2 separate regions of the Homo sapiens genome follow, and region 2 is linked to region 1. The links are contacts of gene promoters, found by promoter capture Hi-C in blood cells and fetal thymus (Javierre and others, 2016). All regions are on one chromosome and are shown on one strand. The core of a region is centred on a gene start or on the middle of the fragment in contact, and the rest is flanking DNA. Distances in the headings are between cores, read along the strand shown. Region 1 holds the start of ARID5B (AT-rich interaction domain 5B). Region 2 has its middle 49 kb from the start of ZNF365.

Region 1 (5,356 bases), core at 843-3,342:
AGTAATTCGATCCTGGGGAGAGGGAGTGAACTAGCAATGCCAAAAGTACTATCAACTCGATCAAACCGAGGAATTCTGGAAGGACTGGCAGCTCCGAGCCCCGGGATGAGTTAAACGGGAAACCATTCATTTAACAAAAAGATCCTTAGATCCTTACACCTACCTCGAAAGCTCGAGAGCCTGGCACAGCACTAGCTGCCCTCAAAAGTCTGTTTGATTACCCTGCTCTCGCTTTGGCAACACAAAGCCTCGCCAGGCGGCAGTGCGCCCTCCCTCCCCGCTGCGCCGTGGGCACAGACTCCCCAAAATAGTTCCCCTCGGTAGGTACCACGGCGCTGAGGTCGGTCAGCTGAGGAGGGGAGCCCGCAGAACTGCGGTCACACATGAAATGACAGAGCCGAAGGGAGGCGGCCGCCCCGGCGCCCAGTGACAGCGGGCTCACCTCCGGCGTCCTCCCGGGAGCGCGGCGAGCGCCCCCGCGGCCGCCCAGAAACGTGCCGGGGAGGCTCTGTCCCCTCCCCGCCCTCCCCGGGAGCGCCGTCTGGGCACGGAGAACGCTGGACCCGCAGGGCCAGTGGGCGAGCACACACCCCTCTGCCCTCCCCTCCCCCGCCCCCGTCCCACACACCCCCAAAGATCGCGCAGGAGGACGTCCACTTTGCGTGGAGTAATTGCAAACTAGAACATCAAATGGCTTGTCCGGGGGGAGGGGGAGTGGGCGAGAGATAGTTGTTAATGCTTAACGTGTTTGTGCCTGTTACACCACCGCTTTGAAATCCGCCCGGGCAGATCTGCAAGTTATTTGAATGTATTATTCCAGTACCTGTCATTTATCACTTTATTCAACACGTCTTTGCCAACTCAATAGCTTTTGATCTCATTCTGCCTCCATTTCGTAATTTCCGCCCTCTTAAACATATCAAATACTTACTTTGAAAAAAGAACAATATCGAAACCCACCGAAAGAAATCCACCCAGACACGACCGAGCCAGACACGAAGGTAAATTTTCAAAAGGCAAAAAATATAAAAAGCATGTGATGTTCAAGAGGCAATAGCAGGAGAGCAAATGAACACACACACACACATACACACACACACACACACACACACACACATCCTTGAACAAAACCCTTCTCGAACAAGTTATTTGATCTTGACTAAAATCAGCAGTTGGATCCTCTTTGTAAAGCTGACAGCCAAACTCTGACAATGGCAAAATACTCGAGCCCCAGCTAGTGGCGCTACCCCTTTAAAAAAGGAGTCGATCCTGCTTGCCTGCAGAAGTGAATACAGTATTTTCAAGCTTGCCCTGTAATAAGCATTACTAGGGGGAAAAATAATAAAGAAAGAAGAGGGGGACAGACAGGTTTACCACCTCGCCATGGTCGCTATTTCTGCCCTGGGGAGTGTCTTCTGGGAGGAAATAAAGTTTAGAGCTGGATAAAAGTTGCCGGCTGGTCCTCTCTTCCCACAACAGCTGGAGCTCCGCTATGCAAATCGGATCCTTTGGCGTACATCTTACAAAGAAAAAGTCGCCAAGGGACAAAATTCTTGGTTTGCCTTCAAGGTGGAATTGAAAAGCCTTGTAGAAAATGTAAGGTCCGTGCAAGCCACACGGTGAGCCGACCCACTGCAGGGGGGGAAAAAAACACCAAATAAATAATGTAGCCATCAGAGCACAAACATCTATTCCCAGACACATTTACACACAGACATCCACTCTCTTAATACAGACGACCCAACAGATATAACGCTGGGTGGAAAAATAATAGCACCCACAAATTTTCTGCTTCCCTAAAAAAAAAAAAAAAAAAACTCAGGGCCCCCCACCGCCACTTCTACCCACCTCCCCATTTGAGGCGGTAAAATTACATTATGTATGTATGATCAGTGCAGGGATTTTTTTAAACAATAAAAATGATTTTGGGGGATGCAGAGGGTAAAAGTTTGGTGAAAAGTTTGTGGGGGGTGTGGGTGGGTGCAGAGGTGTGGGTGAGCTGGGGGGTTGGGGGGTGCCGGGGGGTGCCGGGATCGGAGGAGCGGAGGAGAGCGAAATACCTGGAGTGAGTTGGGCTCCATCTCGACGTTCTGAATTGATTGAACTCAACATTCTCTCCAAACTTGTTGGCTTGAATGGATTGCATCAGGTCCTGGCAGGGAAACGCATTCTCTGCCTTCAGCCGGCGTAATGTCTCAATATAAAACTGAGCTCTTGCCTCCCTTCGGGCACCGAAATGATTGAAAATATGTCCTAATATTTCTATAACGACTCAATTTTCAGCTCCTGAAAAAACTATGTGGGTTTTCTTCCAAAGATGGATTGATCAAATTCATAATCGAGAGAAAGGCGCCATACGATCTCGGCGGGAAGAGGATGGATCAAGGCAAAAAACACACAAGAAGATTTGTAAAAATAAAAAGCACCCTAAAACTGTGTGGAGATGTGATTCCTCTCTCTCTAACCGCTCCTGTCTGGGATATCGTCTGATGAGATTTTTGGAGGAGAGGAGGGGTAGCGAGCTCCACTGTGCATCTGACAGGACCTGCTTGTATATGTCTAATATAAAGAACATTTCCTGCAGAGATTCCGGGGCGCTGCTCCTCTTTCTAATGCTTCTTAGCAGATTTGCTGTTATTAGACATGTAGATTTGTTTGATAGTTAAATTACGCTTCCTCACTGCCATGTTTTCGAGAACTAATCTGTTAAATTATCTTTTGATGCCTATTTACATGGAAGGGAAAAGTGGGTTATCGATTATATAAACATATAAATATTAATGCATTTGTTCGCTTCGCAAAAAAATACTCAGCAAAAAAAAAAGAGACAAGTGAGCAGTGCACACACATCTTAGGATTTCGCAAACAATATTGAACGGACAGCGACTGCATTTAGGGACTGGAACAATAAACGATGCATGATAAATCAATAAATGCGAGAAGCGAGTCTGCTCAGAATATGAATTCAGGCTCCCGGTTCTGCGTGTGCATTCTTTAATTTTGAAGTATATACACTAGTACGTGTTTACAATGCTGATGGACGCCAAGGGCGCTCTCAAATGATAATGTGTTTATATAACCCAGCGCTACAGGAATAATATACCGACTCCTACCCCACCCCCATCCCCTCCCCCGCCAAAAAAGGGAGGGGAGCTTCCTCAATAATAGTTTGAAACTGAAAAAATCCATTTGCAAACTAGTTAAATACAACCAGAAATTAAGCTGTTGAAAACCGGGGGCATGAACCGTAAGACAATAAAGGCTTTAAATGTGTATATTTATTGTTCTGGAGCCCTGGAGCATTGCGAGGTTTGCATGCACGGCTATTATGCAAACACAGAGAAACTTAAGAGCGACAGAACAAGGAACAGGCAGAGACTGCAAAGCCCTCGCAAGCTCCGACCCAGCTGCCGGTCCTCCGCCAGGCTAGATTGCATTTTCGCAGTGTTGATTTAAAATGGTGTACTCGCTTCCCCCACGTTCCCCCACCCCCTTCCCCGCTCTCCTCCCACTCCTTCCAGCACACCCCCCCTCCAGCTTTTATTATATTGGCACCAATCTTTCCAAAGTGGGTCTGGCATGCTAAAAAAGTAAACATGTACTATATGGGGAATAAGGTCTGTATAGTATGACAGTTGAAACTTGATCTGTGATAAAATTACAGGATGTTGAAATTACTAGTAAGCTATTTTTAACGCTTTCGCAACGTTTCACCTCTAGTCACAGCATCTAGTTGAAACAGGATTACTTTAATGAAAATTATATTCACATGGCTGAAGTTAATACACCCGGCAGAGCACAAATGCCTCATATTCAGTGACTTGAGGTGGAAAGACCCTCTGTGTGTATTTTTATGCCTTTTCATAACGTCTGCGTCCGCTGCAGTAAGAATTAGGGCACTTAACATTATCTAAACCACATTTTTGATTCAGAATATGGGGAAGTAATAAAAGGCAAAATCTATCTCGTTTCTATACACACAGAGATAAACGAAAGAAAATGGCAGATCCTCTAATTACAATAAATAATAAAAGCCCATGCCAAAGAGCCGGTATTCTGAAAGCTGTCGAAAACTATTTTAATAATTTAAAGTAATATCACAACTCTGCACCATGGAGGACTACAATTCGCAGTCTCCCATCTTTAACATTAGCCAAATTATGACTTGCACATCACTCTTTAATTATCTCTTGAAATTTCATCTGATCTTTCTATTTTATAAACATGGGTTACAAAGAGAAATTATAGCTCTCCTGCGCTTTCTCTCTCTCTTTTTAACTTTATAATGCATACTGCAGACGTTTGATTAGAATCGCCCATTTTGTTCATTTTTAACATATGAATGGACTTGACTGAGGGGCATTTTACATGTCTTTTTTAAAAATAGATATGCCTAAAGCTTCTGTTAGTCTCTGTCGTGTTAGCGTAAATATATACATCCAGTTCAAGAAATCCTATATTAAAAAAACTTGAGTTGCAGTATTTTGACAAGATCGTATTTGAGATCGACTCTGAGTCAGTTTCCTGTATGACCAATGCAGCAGCATTTATGCAGGAAACCTCAACAGAATGCCTGAGGGTATCCCTCAATTGTATATTAAATCTCTTTCTTAAAAAATTATACAGCTCTTTACAGCATCTAAGCTACTTCTACTGTCTTTGGTGCTGTAAGTCTTTAAGTGTGTAACGAACTTCATCTAATTAGAAACCCTGTTTCTTCAGCTCTTCAAGGTAGGCACTGAACTAGGATGCATGCTGCCTTATCTCTCCGATAAGGTTTCTGAGATGTTAACAATTGCAGGGATCTGGGTCTGAATATTTTTGAATATCCGCAGCCTTGTAATCAGATGAATGCTAAATTTCAAAACCGAATCACAGGGGTATCTTTCCCCCTCTTTTTACAGCACTGCCCCCACCCCCCGTGAACATAATAAATCTAATAAATCAAACCAATACTGTGAATGCCTTTTAAAATTACAGATCACAATAGTGTTTACCCCTCCCCCCCAAAAATCCCTCAATTTTACCTCTTCTTTAATGTGATGTTTGATAGGCACCTGTAAATTATCTGTGTAGCAAATATCCATACAAAGAAAGTTTCAATTAAGATAAGGAGATTGTATTGAAACAGTTCTTTGAAGTAATGTAGTTAATAGCCTGTTTGATTTCTGCTTGTGAGAGAGTAATAACGTGGATTCAAGGCTCCATCAATCACAGAGCAGATGTAAGACTTGAGACACCGACACCCAGGGGAATAGAGGCAAACTCCTGCAGTGCAGGGTCCCTGGGCTAATGTAAAGTAAATACTCATAAACAGATTGAATGTTGTAAGAAGACAATCCATTCAGGACAGTTA
Region 2 (5,356 bases), core at 1,325-3,824, 520 kb before region 1:
ACCACAGAGGCTTCTGGACAGGGGAGTGGCAGGTGCAGAGCTATGATTCAGATTAGTTTCAGCTATGTTTCAGATTAGCATGGCACTGATCAAAGCTGTAGGTAGGGGAACCAAAGAAGTTATTTCAGTCATCCAGATGAGTCAACCAAAAGGAAGAAAGAGGAGTCAAGGATTAGAAAGACAGTGACATCATCAATCTAGTAGGCGAATCACACAATCAGGTGTGGGGGCAAAGATGAAGAGTTTGGTTCTGGAGTTCTAAAAATAAAACCGCTAGTATAGGCTTTAACATATAGGGAGGGATTAAAACATTTTGACTGATTATTGACAAGTTTGTCAATCATTACTGAGTCAAAATGGTTGTTTGGACTTGCATTTCTTTAATTATGACCAACTTGAGCATCTTATTATTTATTCATTTTTTCATTCAGCAAATATTTGTCAAATTCCTACTATATGCCAGGTATGGGTCTAAGTGTGAAGGCTATAGCAGTCAGCACCATATTCCCTGCCTTCATAGACCTTGTCTTCTAATGGTGATAAATGAACAATAACCAGATAAATAAGAAAATATATGGTACATCCGATGGTGATACATTCTATGAAGAGAAGTAAAGCAAGGAAAGGAAATGGGGAATGCCGAGTGTGCAGTGTGAAGCAGGGAAGGCCTCCTGAGAAAGTGACACTGACCCAAAGGCTTCACAGGTCAGCCTGAGAGCCAAAAGAAAATCTGGGGAAGGGACAGTTTAGGCAGAGGGAATGGTAATCACACAGGTCCTTGACTGGACCATATCTGGCCCCCTCTTTTCAAGTAATTATTGAGAATCTGTAGTTGTTACTCTGTGAACTGTTGGTTCATATGCATATTTGCTCTTAGCTTGCCTGTCATTTCTTACTGATTAGGAATCCTTCACATGTTAAAGAAATCATCCCTTGCCTAGCATATATATTACAAATGTTTTCCTCAGCTTACCATTGTGTTATTTTGTTTATATTGAGATTATGTATTTTTATATATGTCATATATTTAATCATAATTGCTATACAGAAGTATTACATTTTAGGTAATAAAATTTATCAACCTTTTCTTAATGGCTTCTAGACTCTGTGTCTTATCTAGGAAGGTTATCTCCACTCCATGAATGAAGAAAACTTTATTTTTTTCTTCTTATAATTTTATGAACTTAAACGTAACATTTAAAATGTTAATACATCTGGAGTTTATTTTGGTGTAATCAACAAAGTCAGTTTACTGTTTGAAAAACAAGGGACTCTTGAAATGAAAAACTTCTAAGACCCAAAAGGATGTGTTTCTAAAGGTGACAGAGCAGGGAGGTTGTGTGGAAATTGGCTGCAGAAGACCCTGCTGAAGCCTGCATTCTCGGATGCCAACAGCCATTCTCTAGCCTCATTTCCCAAAGTGCTTCTGTGGCACTCTGGTTCCACAAGATAATTACAGGTATCCAGCAAAAACGTTTTCCATCTTGAAATAAGTTTCAGAAACCTGGGATAACTGTGTAGTAACTCTAGGACAATTGAGATTCTTTAATACATCAATGTCATTGTAAGTCCCCAACTGGGGCACTGTAGGCCATGGAACATTTGTCTCATAAAGCATCTTGGCTACCAGTATTCTATATTTGGAGCGGTCGTTCCCAGACTTTGGTTATATCAGAAATATCTAGAGAGATTTTTATAACACATACTGCTGAATCCCATTCCTGATCAATGGAATCCAAATCAGTGAAGACAGCATGCAAGAATTTTTAAAACTCTCATTGACAGGTGTTTTGTGATCAGTGGTCCAAAATAGCCTCTGCTTAAAATGTTTCCACTAGAGAACTAGGCCAACAGAAAATTATCAAATGACTATTTTCTCAATTATCCCAAGGATGAGACATAGCTAGTATCACTTTAGATGCATAGGAGGGAAGTTAATTCATTGCTTATAATAGATTCCTGAGAGCATCGTGCTTCAATTCTCTCCTAAAACCCTGGTTGAGAAGAGCTGGACATGGTACTGGTGCCTGCAAAAAGGTGTACTTTCTTGGACCTTACCACCTCTTCATCTCCTATCACTTACAAAAAGAACATTAAGTGTTAAATTTGATAGCAAGGGGGCAGTAATGGGATCAAAATCAAACTAAGCTTCATTGGATAAGCATACTCACTCACAGGCTTCTCAAATTAATAGAGTTCTCAGAAATTTGGTCTGATCAATCATGTTTTGTTCTTTCCCCAGATAATATTTGCTATAGTCTGTTATAAAAGTTCATTAATAACACAGTTATCTCTAATAAGGTCTAATTTTTTTCTTTATCCTAACCTCGAGCCCTTATCTTGTTTACAATTCTTTCCTTCCATCAGTGTCTCAAAAGAAAGTATAATATACTTCAGACTCCATAAACTTCATTGCATTGTGCAAAACTATGTACATTCAGTTTTGAAAATAAGAATGATTTTAATAATCTGAATAACCTAATATGTAATCATAGTGCCAAATATCATGCTTATTATTATAATTATTTCCTCTCTAAATCAATTCATTTGTAAGCTCAAAGCATGCATTTTATTAGTCCTAATTGGATTCAGAGAGCTGTGATCTCCTTGTAACCCTAATCCCTATTATAAAATGGAAAAATCATCATTAAATTTGATTTACATGCTCCTTTTGGGTAGTGTCACCTACGCTACCCTCATAGCAAGGATTTTCTATTAAAATATCTTTTTGAACTAAGAATTCTAGTCATTTAGAATAGCCAAGATGAGCACATGTCACATCCTAGAGTTAGTGTAAAAATTTAACACTTTTCTTCCTGGCTATCAAAACTAATATTCTGAAAAAACTGGAATGATTGAATGTACCCAAATCATTCCTGGTTATCAGAACTAATATTCTGTCCAAGTCTGAATTGCTGAAATTCCCAAGGTAGATTCTGAAAAGCACTAATCCTGTGAAATACTCTATGAAGTAGGAGTCTTGGAGTCAAATAAGCTTGAGAAATGCTGAAATTCAAAATGTATCTTAGTATACCAACTCCTTTAGAACTCCTAAAGCTTGAGAAATGCTGAAATTCAAAATGTATCTTACTATACTAACTCCTTTAGAACTCCTGGAGTTTTTTTTTTAAGTTTCTATTAAAAATGTTGTATAGACCAGGAATTCTTTTCAAGTATCTTACTTAGTGACATGCTACAGAACACAGTTTGGAAATTGATAAGAAAGACTAACATTTATGGAGTATCTATTATATAAGTTAGTTGCCACTATAAATTCATTTAACATTATAGTAAGTCTCCCCCTAGCTGGTGCCAACACATTGTGTGAAACCATCCATGAAAGAGGCCCAAATATTTCCTTCCTCAGACAACTCATCAGGGATATTTCTTAGGAGACTAGAGGTGTGAGTTGAGAACAAGTTGGCAAGACAGCAAAAGTAGGTGCCAAGGGAGTCTGTGCCAGGTACTCACACAACTTAGTTTCGTCTTCAAGATCAACTTCATTTCCATCTCATATGCAGTTTTCTTTTCTTGTGATCATGGAGTACTCTACGAACACCCAATTGTAAGGTTTGGTGGATGAGATAACACCTAACTCATGATGGGCTACTTAGGTGGTATGGCATTCAGTCTCTACTAGGGCCCAGTAGAGAATTAAGAACTATTTCCAAACTGAATAAATGATCATTTTCAGAATAGAGCATGGCCGCGCTCTAAAGCCCTAGGTATCTGCACTGTTTCTCCTACTGGGTTTTCTCACAGCTCCATTTGTACAGCACCTCTAGCTGCCATAGACATGTTGTGCATCATTGGGTCTGCTTGGTCATTAGGTCTAAATAGTGGAGTGGTTTTCACAGCAGTCCAGACCAGCTGCAGTGCCTCCTTTAGTCTAGGTCCATTCAAAACTGGCAAATTTACTGGTTGTCATCTGGTAAATGAGTCAGAGCAGTACACTCAAAAGTGGGGAATGTTGCCTTTAACAACCAAAGAAGTTCACAAAATATTGTGCCTCCTTAATGATGAGGGTGTAAGGCATAGCGACTTATATTCTCTTTCTTATGAGATATCACATTTCCCAGTCTACCCAACCCTAGAAGTTTCATCAAGATGAACAAGATGACATGCCTTGAATTTTCATGGGGTGTTTCTCCCACCTCTGGCATGCATGCAGTTATCAAGGCATCTAAAATACTGGTTCCTTCCTACTCACACAGCCCACTCAGCATGACTCATCCATATAATGGACCAACATGCTGCCCTGTAGAATGGTAATACTTGGTTTCTCTGGACTAGATTATTGCTGAAAACCAGAATACTAACATAACTCTGAACTAAGACAATGAAGATATATGGCAGTACCTTGCAGATAAGAGGAAGCTGCTTCTGATATTTTTTTGCTATTCAGAATACAGTGGTAAAACATTATCCAAATCAATAGCTGAGTATCAGCTATAGATCCAGCAAGGAGTTCACATCTGTAACAACTATAGTTGTAATAATCTGCTGTCATTATTCCAGATTCATCTGTATTCTGCATAGAGCAAACAGATAAGTTAATGCTGACCTGAAAGAAATCAATAGCTCTGCAGCTTTCAAGATTTTGATGGTGGCACTGATCTTTTCAATTACCTCAGGGATGTAGTATCAATTATTGTTTACTATTTGGAGAAAGAAATCCCAAGGACTTCTTGCATATCTCTATCATTAAAGCCTTTACTTCAACAGTGAGTATGCCAATGTCGGGAGGCTGTCAGTACATAATTAAATCTATTTCAACCATGCTTTCAGGGATTAGCACACTGTGGTTTTGCAGAGTTCCTGGCTTTACGTGATACGGACTTGGGTTAACATTTCATTTTATCACCCAAATTCTAAAGCCCACCCGCTTAACTGAGTATAGAGGATTCATGGTCCTGAGGAATTTGCATCAGCTCAAGGCTGATGAGAAGTAATCCCTAAAAAGATTGGGTATTTTACTTTATCAACTGTGGATTCACCCTTGTAAATGGCCCCAGATTCTTTTGGTAAAGGCCAGGTAACAGATTTGCAGTACATAATTGTGCCAGTGTTGTACGATCTTTCATCAAGTTGACTAGACTCTCCTACATTCACAAGACCTGTTCAATTTGTGAACTAGCTCAGTTCAGAAAATTGGTGATGACAATAAGATTGTTGATGACTTAGACATTAACAATCAAATCAAAATAGACAAATACATATTTTTCCAGTATAAGCAATGAGCTACCACTATCGGTTGCCAATGTCTCTAAACCCAAGTAGGCCACATTTCTATCTTTTGAAGTCTGTTTTCCAGACTTCTTCTGGTACAAAATGGTTTATCAGTCAGTGTTCAGTT

Evidence for each region. The method cuts DNA at HindIII sites, captures the fragments that hold promoters and counts their contacts. A CHiCAGO score of 5 or more calls a contact.
Region 2: a contact is called between a fragment that was not itself captured here and the fragment with the promoter of ARID5B in region 1, in 3 of 17 cell types (total B cells, naive CD4 T cells and naive B cells). The highest score is 5.9, in total B cells.

The regions. Positions count from the first base shown.
Region 1 is chr10:61,898,435-61,903,790 of GRCh38, reverse strand. It overlaps ARID5B (AT-rich interaction domain 5B), which reads right to left and starts at 2,092. Exons shown (of 10, transcript NM_032199.3): 1 at 2,061-2,092; 2 at 1,378-1,632. The coding sequence starts at 2,081. RefSeq lists silencers at 341-660, 3,401-3,570 and an enhancer at 1,900-2,402. The HindIII fragment of the contact is 3,094 bases long and covers 1,308-4,401 here.
Region 2 is chr10:62,420,989-62,426,344 of GRCh38, reverse strand. It overlaps a transcript of ZNF365 not described here. Among named protein-coding and RNA genes, the nearest start is that of ZNF365, 49 kb to the right of the region's middle. The HindIII fragment of the contact is 847 bases long and covers 2,151-2,997 here.